2 separate regions of the Homo sapiens genome follow, and region 1 is linked to region 2. The links are contacts of gene promoters, found by promoter capture Hi-C in blood cells and fetal thymus (Javierre and others, 2016). All regions are on one chromosome and are shown on one strand. Each heading gives the region's core, a stretch centred on a gene start or on the middle of the fragment in contact. The rest is flanking DNA. Distances are from core to core; before and after follow the strand shown. Region 1 has its middle 56 kb from the start of LINC01252. Region 2 holds the start of STYK1 (serine/threonine/tyrosine kinase 1).

What was found. Contacts are between HindIII fragments. The CHiCAGO score rates a contact against its expected background, and 5 or more counts as called.
Region 1: a fragment that was not itself captured here is called in contact with the fragment with the promoter of STYK1 in region 2 in 1 of 17 cell types (M2 macrophages); the score reaches 7.3 in M2 macrophages.

What each region holds. Positions count from the first base shown.
Region 1 is chr12:11,490,469-11,493,867 of GRCh38, forward strand. No RefSeq gene overlaps it. Among named protein-coding and RNA genes, the nearest start is that of LINC01252, 56 kb to the right of the region's middle. The HindIII fragment of the contact is 6,876 bases long and covers 1-3,399 here.
Region 2 is chr12:10,672,227-10,675,671 of GRCh38, forward strand. STYK1 (serine/threonine/tyrosine kinase 1) reads right to left here and starts at 1,826. Exons shown (of 11, transcript NM_018423.3): 1 at 1,740-1,826. The HindIII fragment of the contact is 4,755 bases long and covers 76-3,445 here.

The DNA of each region.
Region 1 (3,399 bases), core at 426-2,925, 820 kb after region 2:
CATTCTCATGAGTGTTTTATGGTATCTCACTGTGGATTTAAGTTTCATTTCCTCAGTGAATAATAATGTTGAGTATTTTTTCATGCACTTATACACCACCCTTATTTAGGTGTCTGTTCAAATCTTTTCACCACTTTTTTTCTGAATTATTTGTCTTATTATTAAGTAGTAAGAGTGCTTTATATATTCTGGATACTAGCCCTTTGTTAGCAAGTGTCATAAACATTTTCTCCCAGTCTGTGGCTTATCTTCTCATTTTAAAAAATTTATTTTATTTGCTTACTTACTATTTTAGAGATGTATGCTGCCCAGGCTAGAGTGCAGTGACTACTCAGAGGCATGCAATCATTGTACACTACAATCATCAAACTCCTGGGCTCAAGCAATCCTTCCACCTCAGCATCTCAAGTAGCTGGGACTACTACAGGGGCATGCCACTGCACCCAGCTTTTATTTTCTTAATAGTGTTGTTCAAAAAACAAGTTTTTTAGATAAGCAGAAAGTGCGTGTGGAAAAAATAGAAGTTTTAAATTTTGGTGAAGTCCAATTTCTCATTTTTTTGTGGTTCATGCTTTTTGTATCCTATTTAGTGAATTAAAGAAGATATTAAATTCTGTGTTTTTAAATAAAATAAAGCTATAGTAATCAAGTTAATATAATATTGACATAAAGAGAGACATATAGATCAATGCAACAGAATAGAGAGTCAGTCCATTTGATCTTTGTTGTTACTGGGTTCATAATCCCAAAAGATACAACTCAAAATGCCACAATCTCAAATCCCGAAAGGTCAAATTCCTAAAATAAATCATAAAAAATTCTTTAAAAGACATTCATTTACATGTTTTAAAGAGGATTTATTTGAGAAACATAAAAACACAACAGACCATAGGCCACTTTACACAATAAAATGGACAATAATAACATACATATTTTCATAAACATAAACACTCAGGTATGCTAAAGACAGTCACATGGGTATAACAATTATGAATCATATTCACAAAGAAATAGGTCAAAAAGCCACATGGAGGGAAACGACACACACTGGGGCCTACTGGGGGGTGTCGGTGGGGAGGGAGAGCATCAGGAAGCATAGCTAATGGATGCTGGACTTAATACCTAGGTGATGGGTTGATCTGTGCAGCAAACCACCATGGCACACATTTACCTATGTAACAAACCTGCACACCCTGCTCATGAACACCTGAACTTAAAATAAAAGTTGAAGGAAAAAAAGGAAATAGGTCAAAAAGTGAAATGTATAAACGCATATCACTATGGTTAGTAAATGTGTGCACCCAGCTTTCTTAGTTCATCTGAAATACCGTGAAGAGCATCCTAAGTCTTTTGATGAGATCGATCAAAAATTGTGATGGGACAAGTTGGTCCCAGCTCTCAGAGACAGATCAATTCACCTTCTGTATTTGTTATCTCTGGGCTCCTGGGCTCCTGGCCCACGGCATGGTGTCTCCCACCACCAAGGGCAGATCTTCCCCACATAGTCCTCTCAGACTCATACATAATCTCCTGTGGAAACGTCCTCGCAGACACACCCAAAATAATGCTTTACCAGGTTTTTAGTTATTCCTTAATCTGGTTAAGTTTACATCTAAAATTAAGTCCACAAATTCACCTCTTGTTAACATGACACTTACTTGCATCTCCTTACACCATATTTAATTTCCAAATAAAGACCACAACAAGGTGCTAGTTCCACCAAACATGATGCAACTAACATGATACAACTACCTTTTATGCAACCAAAAATGCGCTAATCCCATCGCCAGAATTCAGCTTTCAGTATCTCAACATTTGGGGTTTCAACATTTGGGATTACAGCATTCGGAATTGTGTCTTTTGGGATTATAATTGGCATCATTATTACCACACCTAGAAAATTAATTGCTTAGTATCATTAAGTATTTCATGTTTCTATTTCTCTGATCTTAAAACGCTTTTTCCATTTGTTTGTTTGAATTGTTTTGCAGATATGATTCAGACCCTGTGATGAATTGAAATGTCTCCTAAGCCTCATTTTATCTATAAATTCCTCCTTTTGTCTATTTTTTCTTGCTTTTAAAAATCTTAATTGAAATAGCTGGGTTGTTTTTTCTATAGAATTTCCCCCACAGTCTGGATTTTGCTGAGCTACATGCCTTTAATGCCATTTAACACATTCTTCTGTTTTGTCTATTTCCTATACATTGGTAGTTACACCCTGAGGCTTGATCGGGCTCAGGGCCAATTTTTGCTCTGCAAGACTACATCATAGGTGTCAGCGGTTCTTCAGGAGGCATTTAATGTCTGTTTTCCTCTCCATTTGGACGCGGTCAGTCATTGAGAACCATTATCTGGCTCCGTAAGTGTGCATTCTGAGGCCAGTCCCTTCACTGTGCTTACTCACCAGACCAGTCACACACTAATAAGCAGCTACTGTAAAGGTGGGTGTCGGAGGGTAGAAATAGATAACATATAATTTGACCCGGAAGTAATAGGCAATCCACGGGGGAGCAAACTACAAACTACATTGGGAGACATAAAAACTATTATGGTCCACGCAAGTGGTGAAATTGAAGGCTCTAAAGGTAATATGACATCACAAAGGAGGGGGATAATCAGCATTCTTCAGCCCCTGGCCACCTGTCAGCATAAGAAAGCCTTTGACATGATTTCATGTTCACAATGTTTTTTCAAATAAATCAATAGAATAATGAGGCATCACATGACCCAGTGAAACATCTCAGCTTCATACATATAGTTTAAAAACAATGTAGCTTAGCAGCTGGACATGAAGAAAATATATTAACATTTCAATAGACGGAAAACTTGATATCACCAATAGTAAATGTCCTCTTACCGCCCAAATGTCTCTCCCACCCAATAATTAATGTGATCCTAGACTATATTAGCAGAATTATCAAATCTAGACTCTAAAAGATAATGATTCAATTCTATTCTACACCAGTCAAGACATTCCATGAGAACTACAAGAGGAAAATATCAAATACCATCACATTTACTTCTATACCCATATCTATATCTGTCTACGTGCTACCACAAACTATGGACACTCCTGGCATTGTATTTTTAAGTTGATGATTATACAGAATGTTTAAAAACCCCTGGGCTACACCATGAAGCAGATTTGATCAGTGGAAGCCATTTGAGCTGGTTTCATGTCCTTTTGCCATTTTCCCATAATTTTATTTGTTTGGCTCCTTTTTTTTTTCAGTACAAACATACATACACACACCAATTACATTTACATCTACACCTTTATCTGTATCTGTCTACCTACATACTAAAAACCATAAATCTACTGATACCTTCAATCCCAATCTAGTACCACAGATCACAGGGATCATTCCAGTTTCTTCTCTTTCTATACTTGCAATT
Region 2 (3,445 bases), core at 576-3,075:
CAGAGGTCACCAACACCCGGGGCGCCGACAGGTACGGGGTGCACAGCAGGAAATCAGAGGCAGGTGAGCCAGCAAAGCTTCATCTGCATTTACAGCCACTCCCCATCGCTGTCATTGCCTCCTGAGCTCCTCCTCCTGTCAGATAAGCCACGACATTAGATTTTCTTTCTTTTTCTTCCTCTTGTATTTTTGGTAGAGATGGGTTTCGCCAAGTTGCCCAGGCTGGTCTCAAACTCCTGAACTCAGGGCGATCCACCCACCAACTCCTCCTAAAGTGGTGTGATTACAGGTGTGAGCCACCGTGCCCACTAGCATTAGATTGTCATAGGAGCGTGAACCCTATTGTGAACTGCTCATGTGAGGGATATAGGTTGCGAACTCCTTATGAGACTCTAATGCCTGATGACGTAAGGTGGAACAGTTTCATTCTGAAACCATCTCCCGCCAACCTCATCGGCATCTGTGAAAAAAATTGTCTTCCACAAAATCAGTCCCTGGTGCCTGGTGCCAAAAGCCATGCAGTTTGTGGTACCTTGTTACAGCAGCCCTAGCAAACTCACACAGTAATGGAGGCACTGAACGAAAAAGTATATGATTTTCATTGAAGCAAATACTTCATGATGTCTCATTGAAAGACCTAGCTGCCCCCTAGCTAGCTGTCAGTGGAGATTCCGGTGCATTGAGGGGGAAAAACCAGGTAGACAGCACAGAGTTCTGTTTCCAGGTGTATTTCAGTTGAGCTGTGCTGCACATTACAGTAACTCGACTCCTTTATTGCCACTACTTCCCACCGAGTGGGAAGGAAGTGTGGTCTCATAGGTATAAGAAACTCCAATGTGGAGAGGACCCATTACAGAAGGAAGCAACAATCGCATAAATGAAAGAAAGAAAGGGGGGATGAAGGGTTGATAGAGAAAAATGAAAGAGGAAAAAAGACATTGAAAAGAAAACAGAGGCTAAAATGGTGAAACCCCGTCTCTACTAAAAATACAAAAAAATAAATAGCCGGCCGTGGTGGTGGGAGCCTGTAATCCCAGCTACTTGGGAGGCTGAGGCAGGAGAATCGCTTGAACCTGGGAGGCGGAGGTTGCAGTGAACCGAGATCGCGCCATTGCACTCCAGCCTGAGTGACAGAGCAAGACTCCCTCCCCCACTCCCCACCCCAAATAAAAAGAAGGAAAGAAAACAGAGATTCAGTCAACAAGGGATAGCACATCAGGCTGTACACTTTTAAAGCATGGTTATTGATATCTCATTTAAATATCGCAACAACCCTGGAAAGTAATTACCGTATTTATGCTTTGCAGATGAGGAAGCCGAAGCTGAAAGCAACGATTCCATGGTCTGAAAGGCTATGCAGTCCTCTGACAAGTAATTCCTGTAACCTCATTCTTTCCCTTCCCCCTCTCCTGATGGCCCCCTCTCCAGGAATAAACAGAGGTCCCCCATTCCTGGGTTTTCTCATGTTTCTCTCTGCACCAAATCTGCTGAGTCAGGTTTACTCCCTTATCATATAGAAACACAGAAGCCAAACCCCACAAGATGCTGGTTCCGAAGAAACACAGGTTAATTCACTTGGTGATTTCTGTTTGTTCACATAAACACCCGTTCCGCTCCCAGCCTCTTCCCTTTTTCTCCCTCCCCAACTGCAAAGTCCTCCCCCAGCTGCCTCGCTGCCATTCCCTTCCCACCTTCTTTACCCTCCCCGCCGCGCCCGCCCCCCATACCCCGTTCACTACCGTGTCCCTCCTCTGGTCACTCCGGTTTCCGATGGCACCGGCCCAGTCGGAGGGGAAATAATGACAGGGTTGGGTAGGGCAAGGTGTGCCAGCCTCAAGGAAATGCTTTTCAGTCCCTCCTTCCCACTGCGGGGCGTGGCTGCCGGCAAAGGATGGAGTTCGGGCGGGCTCCCGCGAAGGGAAGTCTGCGGGCTCCGAGGTTTCCGGGACTCGCCACACTCGAGCCACAGGAAACCTCTGCTGCAACTGTAAAGGCTGGACTTGTTGCTGATCTATACTCATTTCCTACTCTAGTGATTGCTAGATGTCAGGTATCACGGTGACTCCAGTCCAGGTGAAAACGGAGTCACGATACAGGGCAACAGCGCCACCTCACGGCCGGCCCCGTAGCAGCGGCCTCCATTGGCGCCTAAAAATGGTCAGGATTCACATTCAGGTGGATTATTCCGCGCCAGGAACATTCTCCACCTGAAGGCTTTGCCGGGGTGTTACAAGATAATACTGAAGGGACGGGAGTGGTGGCTTACGCCTGTAATCCCAGAACTTTGAGAGGCCAAGGCGGGTGGATCACCTGAGGTCAGCAGTTCGAGACCAGCCTGGCCAACGTGGCGAAACCCCGTCTCTACTAAAAATACAAAAATTAGGCGTGATGGCGGGCGCCTATAATCCCAGCTACTCAGGAGGCTGAAGCAGGAGAATCTCTTGAACCCAGGAGGCAGAGATCGCATAGAGCCGAGATTGTGCCACTGCATTGCAGCTTGGGCGACAGAGCAAGACTCCGTCTCAGAAAAAAAAAAAAAAAAAAGAAAAAAAAAAGTACTGACCACTGCGGAGACGTGGGGGAACCTATAAGGAATTAATGAGAATTAAAACCCCAAGATTACGTAATAGATCATTCATTTAGAGCCCGCGCGCGCGCGCGCGCGCACACACACACACACACACACACACACACATATATCCCATTATGTCCTGGGTTCTCCTCTGGGGAAACAGTGAACAAGGTAGTTATGTTACCCGTCCACATGGAAACTAAAATAATAGAAAATACTTAAGACAATAGATAGCTGAAGGAATTCTGTTAGATATTAACACCTAATACAAATTCAATTAAAGAAATAAGAGTCATAGGTAACTTGAATATGTGACCAATTTATTCAGCATTGAACGCATACCAAACACAAACTGACAGTCATTAGAGCAAAAAGAACTTGAGTCAATGTAATGTGGCATATTTAGAGATTGAGGTATGTCAGTTCTCTAGAGCTTTCTCTATTGGCATTTTCACTTCCTTCAGGGCTTTTTAAAAACAGGATGAATTGTACTTAATGCCACTGAACTGTTCATTTTTAAATGGCTAATGGTTGATTTTATGTTATGTGAATTTTACCTCAAAAGGGGAAAGGAAGACATCTCATCAGTTAGTTGTTCTTTAGATTCTTTATGTCATAAGTGATACATCAAATCCAAATGAACTGATTGGAACTTCATATTATGTAATTTTCTACTCTACCTCCCCAAGCATGCTCCTCCATGACAGATAAAGTGGTTTACTCATTTTTAAAATTTCTGCAATGTATTGCTAGATACTCATTCTGATGCACAGAATTTTGTCTAAAATCTAGTTACTATTATAGAAATAGAAGTTAAAAAAGAAACCAAAATACAATCCAGAAAGGGGAGGCAAAATTTTTCTCTCCAATTTT